3 separate regions of the Homo sapiens genome follow, and regions 1 and 3 are each linked to region 2. The links are contacts of gene promoters, found by promoter capture Hi-C in blood cells and fetal thymus (Javierre and others, 2016). All regions are on one chromosome and are shown on one strand. Each heading gives the region's core, a stretch centred on a gene start or on the middle of the fragment in contact. The rest is flanking DNA. Distances are from core to core; before and after follow the strand shown.

What was found. The method cuts DNA at HindIII sites, captures the fragments that hold promoters and counts their contacts. A CHiCAGO score of 5 or more calls a contact.
Region 1: a contact is called between a fragment that was not itself captured here and the fragment with the promoter of TMEM266 in region 2, in 1 of 17 cell types (endothelial precursors). The highest score is 6.1, in endothelial precursors.
Region 3: a fragment that was not itself captured here is called in contact with the fragment with the promoter of TMEM266 in region 2 in 1 of 17 cell types (megakaryocytes); the score reaches 5.7 in megakaryocytes.

What each region holds. Positions count from the first base shown.
Region 1 is chr15:75,807,221-75,811,915 of GRCh38, reverse strand. No RefSeq gene overlaps it. Among named protein-coding and RNA genes, the nearest start is that of UBE2Q2, 34 kb to the left of the region's middle. The HindIII fragment of the contact is 3,069 bases long and covers 1-2,889 here.
Region 2 is chr15:76,057,381-76,061,812 of GRCh38, reverse strand. TMEM266 (transmembrane protein 266) reads right to left here and starts at 1,828. Exons shown (of 11, transcript NM_152335.5): 1 at 1,797-1,828. It also overlaps a transcript of NRG4 not described here. RefSeq lists a silencer at 2,786-2,835 and an enhancer at 4,319-4,368. The HindIII fragment of the contact is 3,394 bases long and covers 287-3,680 here.
Region 3 is chr15:75,927,807-75,931,987 of GRCh38, reverse strand. It overlaps FBXO22 (F-box protein 22), which reads right to left. Exons shown (of 7, transcript NM_147188.3): 6 at 1,939-2,104. Among named protein-coding and RNA genes, the nearest start is that of FBXO22, 26 kb to the right of the region's middle. The HindIII fragment of the contact is 1,236 bases long and covers 1,402-2,637 here.

The sequences.
Region 1 (4,695 bases), core at 106-2,605, 250 kb after region 2:
GCTTACCATGAGATCCAAGCTGGAAAACCAGGAATGCATTTTTTACATGCCAAATGCCACAGCTCAAGTTAGAAGCACCCAACTGACTGGGTGTGAGAGTGGGGAATATGGCCTCCTATGCCTGCAGAGGCAGCGTCCCATGCCAAGAAGGGACTGACTCACTGCTGTTCCTCCATAAGGCTCGCTGCCACAACCACTTGCACCATGCGCCATGTCCCTGTCCCATATCCCCATTCCCCAGAGGCCTTGAGCCAAGTGGAGCAGGGCAGACACTGTATGATCCCACAGCTGACTGTTCATAGTCTCTAACCTTTCCTTCTCTTATAAAAGGAAAACAGGGCACTCCTCTGATGCCACCCAGCATGTGATACCCGCCTGGACACATCCAGGAAACACTCAAGCCATGCTGGGGAGGCAGTCATCCTGTTTCTCATGTTTATCCACACACTTCCACAGGGGCTGCAAGTCTACACAACCTAGACACTTGGTCCAAATGGCCCCTAGTTTGTGCCAGGCACAGTGCTAAGCATTTGGGTTACAACGATGAACAAAAACTGGCCTGGTCCTTGATGTTATGGAGCTTACAGTCTAGTAGGGGAGATGGCCATAAATCACGTGATCAAAATTTATTTAATTGAAAAAGTATAAAGAGATATAAGAGCATATAGTGAGGGACCTAATCTGATGGGGTGGGTAGTCAACACCCCAAATAAGGGATATTTGAGAAGGCATTCACTGTCAAAGAGAAGTGTTTCTGGCAGAGAGAACAGCATGTGCAAAGGTCCTGAGGTAGGAGGGAGGGAACCCTCAGGGATCTGAGGTGATAGAGGGAGTAAGAGAGAAAGAATGAAGCAAAAGGTGGCTGCAGAGGCAGGCAGGGGCCAGATCCTGCAGGCCAAGGGTGAGTCAAAGCCATTGCAGAATTTAGCAAGAGAGTGACTTAATAATATTGGGCTTTTAAAGATGAATATGGCTGCAATACCAGAATGGCTGGTTGGAAGAGGCCAAAGTGGAAGCTACTGGGGATGTCTGTGTAAGAGCTGACAGTGACCTTGTGGTGGAAATGGGGCACAAGAGAGGGAGACTGTGCTGGGCTTCATCATGGTTGAATGCAGGAGAGAAAGGAAGTATCAGGGAGATGCTGGCACAACCAGGGAAGACTTTCATCACCCACTGGGTACGGGGGAGGGTGGTTAACCTGTGGGGAGAAGCAGGGCACTTATCCAGGGTGGAAAAGAGAGAGAGTGAGGAGAAGGAGCAGGAGTAAGAGAGCTAAAGCTGAGAACTCAAAGGACCAAGGAGAAGCTACAGGGCCAGCTCACAGAAATGGCGCGGAAGGAACTCACTTGTTGCCCCAGCTTTCTCTCATTTCAGTCTCAAAGAGATCTTGCCGGTTAGGCGGACACTTTCTCCACTTCGCAGGGTAACCAACTATGGATCAGATCTTCTTCTGACATCACAGAGCTGGGACTTGAATGCAAGTCTGTGTAACTACAAAGCCCACACTCTGCTCTCTGCCAGGAGCCCCACTCCTGCCCCGATCCCTGGGCCGATGAGTTATATCGAGGCCTATAGCCAAAATGAAGGCTCAAAGATTCCCCAGCAGGGGAAGAAAGTGGCTGGGTGGGAGGGCTAATTCTCAATTCCTGTAGTTCATTCAGATCCTGGAGCCTGGGGGAATATGGGAAAACCAAGGCAGACACAACGTGGAGAAAGCAAAGGTCAGTATTTCTCTACCCTGGCTGCACAGTGCCATCATCAGGTGAGCTGTGAAAATTCCTGGTGCCCAGGCCATCCCCCACCAATTAGCTCAGAATCTCTAGGGTGGGGCTTGGGCATCAGAATGTTTTCAAGCTCTCCAGGTGATGCCAAGCTCTCCAGGTGCAGCCAGGTTGAGAACCATGGGCATATCAGCCCCTCTCCTGAGACCTACTCTATCTCAGTCTAGACTTATCTTGGAAGGGCCTCCCATAACTGTATTTGGGGCCACACTGCCCAGGATCCCAGCCTAATCTGAGTTTAGGTCCTAATTAAGATCTTTAGAGACCCAAGACACTGCAAAATTATTGTGCAGAGCTCCTCTCTTTCTTTTCTTTCTTTCTTTCTTTCATTCATTCGTTCTTTCTTTCTTCTTTCATTTTCTTTCTTTCTTTGCCTTTCTTTCTTCCTTTTCCTTTTTTTTTTTTTTTTTTTTTTTGAGACAGTTTCTCTCTGTCATCAGGCTGGAGTGCAAAGATGCGATCACAGCTCACTGCAGCGTCAACTTACCAGACTCAGATGAATCTCCCACCTCAGTCTCCTGCACAGCTGGGACCATAGGCACATACCACCACATCTGGCTAATTTTTGTATTTTTTGTAGAGATGGGGTTTCACCAAGTTGCCCAGGATGATCTTAAACTCTTGGGCTCAAGCAATCCTCTGCCTCAGCCTCCCAAAGTGCTGGGATTACAGGCATAAGCCACCACACTCAGCTCCCCTTTTTCTTAAGTAATTCTAAATAAAAACAAGACTAAATTATAAAATAAAATTTGACATGGGCATTTTTGGAGAAATGACACAAAACTTCCATGATAGCTGAAATTAAAATATTTATTTTTGGATTTTCTATTTGTGTGTGCACACAGGTACACACTTGTCCTTGGTTGGTGCCCTATGTGTGTACTTGCTCTATGTAGTAGGTTAATCTGCACAGAGTCTGAAGGCACAATTTTCAGTAAACGAAAGCTCTACATAGCACAATTTCCAAGCAGTTGAGACTGAAGCAGCAGTCTCCTTCTGGGTTTAATTTGAATTAACTCATTATGTCAGAGGTTGCAAATGTTTTTCTGTGAAAAATCAGACCTTGGCGATGACACTGAGCAGTAGGATATAAATAACTCCACAAGCTTAGCGTTCCAGTAATGGAACGCTAAGCATAAATGTGTAAACTGCCAGGATGTACTTGTGCAGGAAACTGACAATTTTCAGCAAGAAATCTTCAGATGAGGCTTGTCACTCTCCAGTGTAACTCTAGGGCCTGCTTGGCAGGGGGACCAGCTTTGGCTGGAGGCTGGGTCAAAACGGCGGCCCTGGGATGGCACCTTCCCATCCCATGGAGGGAGCTCTGTTGGGAACATGAGACAGACCAAGAAGACTCATCCATTAGGAAAGCGGCCCTTGGCCTGTCCGGTTTTAATGGAGGAGGGTGCTTGGTGCAATGACCACTTCTGATGGGGAAACTAGTTGAAGACATGGGCATTGTCTTTCCCATGTGTGCCCCACTGGGAGCCTAAACTTGATGGGTGAAAAGTTCCAAGAGATGAATCAAGAGCACTATATATATCTCGGCCGTCCAGGCTGGGCTCCTCCCACCACCCCTCAGTCCTGCCCTCTGGAACCCTTAGCAGGCTGGCAGAAGCCCTTTTTGGGGTCCAGACTTATGACCAGGATGCCTATGGCTTCCTAACCCCCAGGTAGGGCAGCCTAGTGTAAAGATCCTGAAAGCAGGAGAACAGCAATTGATCAAGTGAACCCAAGATAGGACTAAAACTGTCTCTGATGGCAAAACCTTTGATGACGAAGAGTCTGGCCCATAGAAAGATGGCCCTGAGCATGGCACCTCTGACCAAATCCCTCACTCTGACCTACTGAGCGTATGAGCCCAGCCTTGCTCACAGTCGGGGCTGGAGGGAGACCTCATGGAGGCCACTCGATACCTGCACTTCCTGTGTGCCTGTCACTGCTGATTCCACCCACACCGTCCTCTGCCCCAGCCAGCTCAGCCCTGCCATACCCTGCCATTACAGTCCGGGCTCTTTGGATGTGAGTGACAGAAAATTCACTGGCTTAGGCAAGAAGGGAAGCTCATTGGTCAGTAAGTTAGCCATGGGCAGGACAGGGAACAGCTGGGCCTCAGGAATACCTGGACTCAGAATCACCAGCGCTGTTAGGATTTGCAGGCTCCTTCCCTTGTCTCTGTCTCCACCTCAGTCTGCAGATCAGTTTTGTGCTCTCAGAGCAACTCTCCCCACGAGGTTAGAGTCAGGCTGTTGGCAGCATGAGGCTTCTGTCTTACTGGCTTTGCCCCCGAGGAAAGGATGGGGCTCCCCTCTATTAGTTCCTATTCAGAAAATTCCAGAAGAAAGTTTCTGCTTGGTCTGGTCTGGGTTGGCTGAGTAGCTGGGACTCTAAAACTGCCGACCCCTCTAGTGTCATGTGGTTGAAGTAGGGCAGGGAGATGTATTAGTCAATTCAGTGTACCATGCCAAAATACCACAGACTGGGTGGCTTAAACCACAGACATTTATTTCTCACAGTTCTGGAGGCTGGGAAATCCAAGATCAAAGTGCCAGCAAGGTAGGTTTCATTCTGAGGCCTCTTCTCTTGGCCCATAGGTGGCTGCCATATTGTGTGCTCATGTGACCTCTTCTTTGTATTTGTGCAGAGAGACAGTGAGTGCACTCTCTGGTGTCTCGTCTTATAAGGACACTAATCCTACTGAATCAGGGCCCCACCCTTAGGACCTCATTTAACCTTAATGATTTCCTGAGAGGCCTCATCTCCAAATGCAGCCATACAGAGGGTTAGGGCTTCAACATATGAATTTGGAGGAGACAGAGACACTCAGTCCATGAAGAGAAGAAAAACTATTCACGAAGAAAGGGGTGCAGTGGCCAAAAAAGGGGGCAGACAAAACTACAGATGCTCTCCCCAT
Region 2 (4,432 bases), core at 579-3,078:
TGGGATGCGATAATGGAAAATGGGAGTGATTCATTCTACTTAATGCATATACGTTTTATGGGTTTAAATCTGGAGGGAAACAACTTTTTAAACTCAACTCCTTGTGTGTGAGAATTAAATGGAAGCACATCTTGGACCCCACTTTTTATAGGTTTAGTGCCACCTCAAAAAATTCCATACTGATCCATTCTGAAACAACTGCTTTTCTTACTGGAAAGCCACAAAGTTGGTGCAGAATCTATGAAATGGAAAATTAGACCCAAGCCAACATGCTCATGCATAAGCTTGATTTTAATGAAAAGGTACACGGAGCAGCCGCACCTGGAGGAAAAGCCCCCTCAGGGCTCCCCACCTCCAGTATCCCCATGTGCTTGAGTTTGCATCCTTACCCTGTCCCTGACTGTGTGACCTTGGGCAAGTTAGTTAACCTTTCTAAGTCCTGGCTTGTTCATCTTCAACATGGACATAGCAGGTTTGCTGTGAGGACTAAATGAGCTCATACACAAATAGTTTTAGCTCAGTACCTGGTACATATGAACATTTAAGAAACATGTCCTTCTCGTGATTAGATGTGACACTCTGACCATTTTAGAAGCAATTACGGTTCAGCTATCATATCCCAACATCTTGTGATAACCATTTTCATTTTTTGCTTCTAGCTCTTACTATTCTTTTCATCACAATATTTTAGGGTGGAGGTATTTGGGGGAGGAGGTAAGCAGTTATATACATCCCATTTTCCCACTGTTGTTCAAAGCAAGGTGAAAAGCCAGGGAAATAAACACATGCACTGAAGAGAAATTCAGTCTTTAGGATATGATGTGATAGGTGTATGGAATATAAACAAATCATATAATTTCAACCTCTCACATATAGGGCATCAAATCATAGGTAGGTCTTATTTTAAAAGAAAAGCCAAGCAGCATTAAAGAGGATAGAGGGAACCCATATGGGCCTATTGCTAGCTCAGTATTGGTGACTGTGAAACAGGGATGGGTGAGCTAGATTACGGGGGTGTTTCATGGGGTCTGACTTCCAACAGGTGGCTAGCTTTAGTCATGTTCAGATGCAAAACCGTAATGAGTTTGAGTATGCAAGTCCCAGGGATTCTGTTGAAGGCCATCTTTTCTCGGCCATCAAGGGAGACAATTTTCTAGGTTTAAGCCTCCCTGGCAAGTTAGCAAGCAGGGAACTGCCTGCCCTAGCTTGCACCTGTCCCCTGAAGGGGATTCTGGCCTGACGGTGAAGACCCACCATCCCTTCCAGACAGCCCATTCTGCCGCTGGGGCACCTCCCGACAAACGGGGGAAGCCCACTAGGAAGTGGTCACGACCAACCAAGCCACAAATCCTCAGGGTGTGGGATTTCCACCTCTATACCACGTCTGAAAACCGAAAATAGGCGCCCGCTTGCCATACTGCAATGGGATTCCCCCCAGCAGCAACCCCCCCCTCCAGCTTGCATGTTTTATTAATAAATGCAAGATGGCACACGGAGGCAAAGAATGGGAGGTAAGGCATCTGCAGCTGGACCCGAACCAGGGCAGTTTGCAAAAATAAATAAGAAGCATGTGACAAGAAGCAGGTCTCCAGGCTGGAGCTGAAGCCCTGGGCTGCCCCACGCACCCTCGCCTGGCTCCCCCGGCCAGGGGGATGAAGGTCAGCGGCAAGATCCCAGCCCTTCCGAGCACGCATCCTGCAAACCTTGACCGGTCCCCCCACCCCCCGCCCCGACCACAAGACTCGGGCAGTGAGGCAGGGGAAGCTCTGGCCGCGGCCGGCTGCGAGGACACATACCTGCTGCCCGGGCTCGGGATTCGCTCGGCTCTGCAGCGGCGCCGGCCGCGGCTCGCGCTCCCGGGGCTCCCCTCTCCGCCCCCCCGCCCCCTCGCGGCCCCGCCGCTCCCTCCGCCCCTCCGCCCACCGCGCTCGGGGGCGCGCGCGAGGCCTCGCGCCGGCGGCTTGGCCGAGCCCGCGCCTGCGCCCTCGCCTCCCGCCGGCCGCGCGCGCGCGCCCCCGAGGCTGCGGAACGGCGGCGCGGCTGTCTAGGAAACCGCGGCGTCGGCTGGCAGGGGCTGGCGGCCTGAGCTGGGCAGGGGGCGGAGGCGGGGGCTCGGCTGTCTCCGGGGCTGCCACGCAGAGCGGGCTTCGTGGCGTGGGTGAGGGGGTCGCGGGGCAGGGTCGGGGCCTGAGTGCGAGCGTGTGGAGAGGCGAGGGGGCCGCGAAGGGTGGGTTTGACGGGGACGCAGGCGGGGCGCAGAAGCAACAAGTGCGGAGGCCGAGGGCGTCGCTCGGGGAAGCGGAGGACCCCCGCGGGATTTCGTACAGCTGAGAATGGGAACCTCCCGTCGCTTTGGCGCAGCGCTTTGCAGTTTCCAGAGCTCTTTCCCAGTTGCTCCGTTTCATCCGCGCGGGGCGCCCGGTGAGGGAGCGGATGGCACGCAGTGCCCGCTGCGCTTGGAGGCCACCGAGGGGAAAACACCTCTTTCTGTGTGGCCGGAGTCATAGCACGGTCAGAGTGCCTTGACTCTCAGTTGGCTGCCTGGGAGAAAAATACCTGTCAGTACATTCATTTGATGGCCTCAGCTCAGGACCCTTGTAGGACCGTGTTTCTCCTCTTTTTCCGTTTTTCGTTATCTGACTCTTAAAAAGGCTTTTTACACGTCCCCATCTCCTTTCCCCGTGAAATCCCAGTACCGCAGATACACTGTCGACCTGCTTATGTGCTGTATGTGTTATCCGTGCTTGATGCATAAAAAGTAACATTGCGCCCCTTGGAGGCAGCATCGCCCCGGTGGAGAAGCCTGTCCTAGGGCCATGATTGCCAGTTACCGGGTGGGTTAAACGGAACCACTGAGCAATCTGGATGCACCCACAGATATTCTCTGTGGTTAAAAAAAAAGTCCTCACCCATAATGGGTACTACTCTAATTAATGTTTGCAAGGGCTGCTGTGAATACGGCCATTTAAGCAGCTTCTGGATTCATAGTAGCTTATTATCGTTTGTCTTCTCCACCAATTCTTGCTAAAAATATAGCCATTTTCCTATAGGGTGTTGCGATTTTTATCTTAAAATATTTGAAAAGATGGGAAACCCTTGTTTCTAGGACACGGAGTTTCAGAATGGCTTTTGGCTCTGCAGATAGGTTTGATTTCTGATTCTTGTACCTCTTCTAAAGTGTTTTTATTTGATTAGGTCCAGTTGGCCTCCCAGGAATGTCCTTTGTCTTTTCTTCCTGCCGTAGCTTTTTTAGTATGGATAAAATGAAAATGGTAGAGTTGAAGGACTTCAAAACCACCTCTTGGAATTGCCCCACGGTCTTGGACTACCTTCCCTGGATTATACGGGAATATCTATACAGGGAGTATCTACTTTTGGCAAACTGAGAAAAAAATGTAAAATTTCTTCAGATCCTCCTTCGCCTTTCAGCATTTCCTACTCATCTCTAATCTCTAATGGTGGAATTTCAGAGGAAGAAACACTTGGAGATGATACTTGTGGAAGCTACCTGGGTTGCCAAAGGATTTTTCTACATTTCTAGACGGAAGAAATGTGGACTAGAATAGAGAAAGTGGAGATGGGTTAAGAAAAATTAATGGAGGATGCACGGGAGGGGAGCTATAGTTTTCTGACAGTCAGTGACAGCATTTTAACTAGGTACACTTTCTTTAGAAAAAGCTTTGGCATAGCTTGCCCAGATTGTTATCCACTCCATTTTCCACCTTAGTAGAACTCTACTTAAGATTTGATTGAAACTATTGAGAAGCATCCAGTTATAACGCTAATTAACTCTCAGAGTACGACAAGTATTTTGAAACTTGCTGAGAGAAATTTGAAGACCACTTCAAATTTCTACCAGGAATCTTTGTATCCTAATAAAATTTTTTTGAATTCGGGTTCATGCGACTTCAAGGGAACATTTTTTTCTACAATGGCTATTTATAGTATAATAGCCATTGTAGAAAATATTTATATTTATAAATATTTATATTATGTATTTATAATATAATAGCCATTGTATTGAAAATTACATGCTAATAAAGTTTACGTGTGTCTTAAGTGTTCTGGGTTTTGTCCTTTTCTGAGTAATCCGAGTTAATGGAAATTGTAGGTGCAACCATTTCATGTTGTAGTGTGAAGTCAAAAATCCCAAAACATGTATAATTTGTCAACTCTATGCTGCCCCCTGGTGATGTCTTACTTCACAGCACCTCCCCAAACTAAAATCTCCCTTCGATAAATTTTTTAGGGTATTGAAAACTTAAGTGTGGACGAGATGCCATTCTGCATTCTTCAAACTGGGCCTTCTCTTGTTTTCAAATACCCTGAGGCCTAACACCGGAGGAGGATTAGCCCTTGAGGCTGATGAGGCTAGAGGAACTGTGAAGATCTGCCACAGATCTCACTTTCACTTGGAGCATTATTCTTGAAC
Region 3 (4,181 bases), core at 770-3,269, 130 kb after region 2:
CCTGCCTCAGCCTCCCAAAGTTCTGGGATTACAGGCATGAGCCACTGCACTCAGAGGATAATTTTAAAAACCTATTAACTCTAGAAGTTTTAGCTTTATGTCTAGTCCACTAGAAAATATGATTATGTTATTTTTTTGTCTTGTTTATTGCTTTGAGTCTAGAGTTCAGCTTAATTTGATGGTAAAAACTCATGCTTTGTTTTTGTTTATATTTGCCTGGTTTTTTTAAAAAATGAAATATCCTTACAAAAGAAAATACAACATTGATAAAAGTAATAAAGCATAATATAGTGAACATCCACTAGGGGATAAACAAGTATTGTATCATGCTTCCAACATCTGAATCTATAAAATGGGCAAGAGTCACTGGATTAGTGAGAAACTAAGACGCAAAAAGGTTAAGTGACTAAAGTAATAAGGCTAGCTAGTAGTAAAACAAGTTTGTGAGGGGCAAAATCCGTCTTCTGAAGTCCTCTGCTGCTCTTAAAACTTTATCACATTTCCTCTTTGGTACAGAATTGTTAATATACATTGTCAATCTTGCCTCAAAGAATTATACATCTTCCTTTTGGGGCACTGGGTCAGTTGGGTTATCTGGACTTTATTAAAATGGAGCCCTCATTTACTCAATGGTTTCTCTTAACCACTGACAGAGTATGAAGACCACATTAAAATTAATGGGTCATGTGAAGAGTAATGATTGGGGTGGGGGGTGTTTCTCTTATTAGGTATAAAAAGTAGATGATATACAAATAGCTACACTTACAAGCTAGCACCTCAGATGTTATAAGTCTGAGTGAGGTATCTGCATTTCAAAGGTAAACTGTATGTTGAATCACCATTGCCCTATCCGTACACAATTTAAGTTAATAGCAAAGACACAGGAAAAATTAGGCAAGAGGGGAAATAACTTAGATAGCCACCAAGAATTCAGTGTATGTATGCACAAAATCCAGTGTTTGATATCCTGCCTGGGATTCAACGTACTTGGCCTTCCTCTCTTCCTCCTCCCTGGCAGTCCAGGGACCTCAACTTTAGCTATTTTCCCAGATCTAGCTCATAGAGATAACCAGAAGAGAGACTATAACTAGGATGACTTACATTATTCTTATAGATACTGATCTGCAACAGTCTGTCCCCATGTCACCACTCTAGGATGCAAATATTAAACAGAGTGGGAAACAAATAGTAGTGTTTACAAGCATTGAGGGTGGGGTAGGGTCTGATTTTCCTGCTGGAAACAAATGATATTTATGTCCACCTAATTGTTTCAAACTCAAAATGATATGTATTTTCATTCAAGATGGAAAGGAAGTAATGGCTCCCAAGACAGAAGAGCAAATATTTTTATCTTTGAAAGCAAAAGCCTTAGTAACAAAAAAGATCCACAATTTTTAAGCTTGAAAAAGCCTTTCAAAAGATCTAATACAGAATTTCCAAAAACCAGTACGACTTGCAAGACATTCTGTGGAAAAAAGTTTTGTGACCAAACACATTTGGGAACTGTCACAGGTAATGCTATTCTCCTTCCAGATTTCCACAGCACTGGGCATATTAGAAGCTCTGAGAAGTTTTGCCATAAAGATACACTCTAACCATGTGTTTCCTTTAAAGGAGGAAACTAGAAAGGAGGTGACACATTGAGGTCACACAGAGTACCACATCTGTCAAAGGAAAGATCAACAGGCAATGTCAAATTTTAAGGAGAATGTGACTCAAGGAAGTTCTTGAAGGACAATATATATAAAAATGTAATTATTCAACCGTAAGCAGAATTATGTTCAGTAAGCCCCTTAGCCAATGTCTACTACAAAATGGAATGAACTATTATCTTAATAATTCTTTAAACACGTTTTTTAAATTGTTAACCCCAAAGTGACAAAACCTGAGACCATTTCCCTTCATTCACAGACGAAATCAGAAGCACACAAGACATACTTTTCAGAAGTCAGTGATGACAGGTTGTCCACCTGGCCTCCAGCCAAGATGATATTCATATCACTGAAAGTGCTGACTACTTGCTGCAGATAATTACTGGCTCCCACCTTACAGCAATTATAACCAAAGACAAGGACCACACGAAGTTCAGGGTTATCTAAAAGACCTGCAGAGAAATGAAGAGCAACAGTTAAAGACAGCCTTAAAACAGAAATTATTTTATACATGCTGCAAAATGAAATGTTACTGACTTGCACTCCACCTTAAGGGCAATTTAGTGGCTTAAGCTATCAAATTTTCCATTTTTTATTTTTTATCTTATTTTATATCCTCTTCGATCTCTGTATCAAGTTTTCCATTTTTTACAAACATTATGCAAAATCTTAATTATTTTTTCTATTAAAAAAACTAAATGGCTATTTGTGTTAATAAATAATGCAATCAACACAAATAATGAAGCAGCTATGTACTGAGCAGCAACTCTTGGTAGACCAAGGTGCAAGCTGGCTCTCAGTAGGGAACAAAAAAAAAAAAACACTGGTTTACACAGAGCTGTGCTAGCAGCAGTGAGAATTTACAGATTTTTTATTTTTTAAAGGAGAGAAAAGGCGCTAACCACTTATAGTGTGGTGAACAGTGCCCCCTGCCCATGCCAAAGGTATATCCACATCAAACCTCTGGAACCTATGCATGTAAGCTTATTTGGAAAAAGGATCTTTAAAAAAAATTTTTTTTTTTTTGGTAGAGATGGGGTCTCGCTATGTTAGTAAGGATCTTAAGATTAAATCATCTGGTCTATCCACGTGGGCTCTAAATCCAATGACAGTGTCCTCATAATGAAAGATGTACAAAGGAGAGACAGAGAAGAAAAGGCAGTGTGACCACAGAAGCAGAAACTGGAGCGGTAGGAAGAGAAAAAGAACAGACTCTCCCCTACAGCCTCCCAAGGTAGCACTACCCCTACTGCCATCTCAATTTCAGACTTCTGGCCTCCTGAACTGTGCAGAATAAATTTCTCGTTTTATGTCACCAAATTTGGGGTACTTTGTTACAGCAGCCTAAGAAACTACTACATCACTGAAATACAGGCTTTATTCACCTCCTCCACGGAAGCAGGTGAGAGTAAAGGCGAATTAGCCTTTGAAAGTTCCTTGCAAAGCAGGAAAATGTTCAATTCTGTGACACAGGAACTAAAAGCTGCTACCGCTAGGAGGTGGCAGAGTGTAACAGAGACAGCCTACTTGCTCTGCCCACAGCTCCCAGGTTTCACTGGAGCCTCTGGCAGCTTGTTTATAGACTATCAATTTGATTTTTTTTTTAAGTTCAGGGATACATGTTCAGGTTTGTTCCACAGGCAAACGTGTGTCATGGGGGTTTGTTGTGCAGATTATTTCATCACCCAGGTAATAAGCCCATTCTCCATTAGTTATTTTTCCTGATCCTCTCCTTCCTCACACCCTCCACCCTCTGGTAGGCCCCAGTGTCTGTTGTGCCCCTCTTTGCGTCGATGTATTCTCATCATTTAGCTCCCACTTATAAATGAGAACATGCAGTATTTGGTTTTCTGTTTCTGTGTTAGTTTGCTAATGATAATGGCCTCCAGCTCCATCCATGTCCCTGCAAAGGACGTGATCTCATTCTTTTTTATGGCTGCATATGTACTACATTTTCTTTATCCAGTTTATCACTGATGGGCATTCAGGTTGATTCCATGTCTTTGCTACTGTGAATAGTGCTGCAATGAACATACATGTGCATGTGTCTTTATAACAGAATAATTTATATTCCTTTGAATATATACCCAGTAATAGGACTGCTGGGTCAAATGGTATTTCTGTCTTTAGGTCTTTGAGGAATCACCACACTATCTTCCACAATGGCTGAACTAATTTACACTCCCACCGACAGTGTATAAGTGTTCCTTTTTCTCCACAAACTTGCCAGCATCTGTTATTTTTTGACTTTTTAATAGCCATTCTGCCTAGTATGGGATACGATCTCATTGTGGTTTTGATTTGCATTTCTCTAATGATCAGTGATGTGGAGCTTTTTTTCCTATGATTGTTGGCCGCATGTATGTCTTCTGCCAGCATTACCAAACGGGTGCTTTGGGGACAGGAAAATGAATCTAATACCTAACACACTTGTGTTTCCATTTGATTTGACCACATGACTTCCACCTTGACAAACCTAAGGTGGTTACCAGAAAGGAGAGTTACTTAAGGAAACAAAGGGTATGCAGA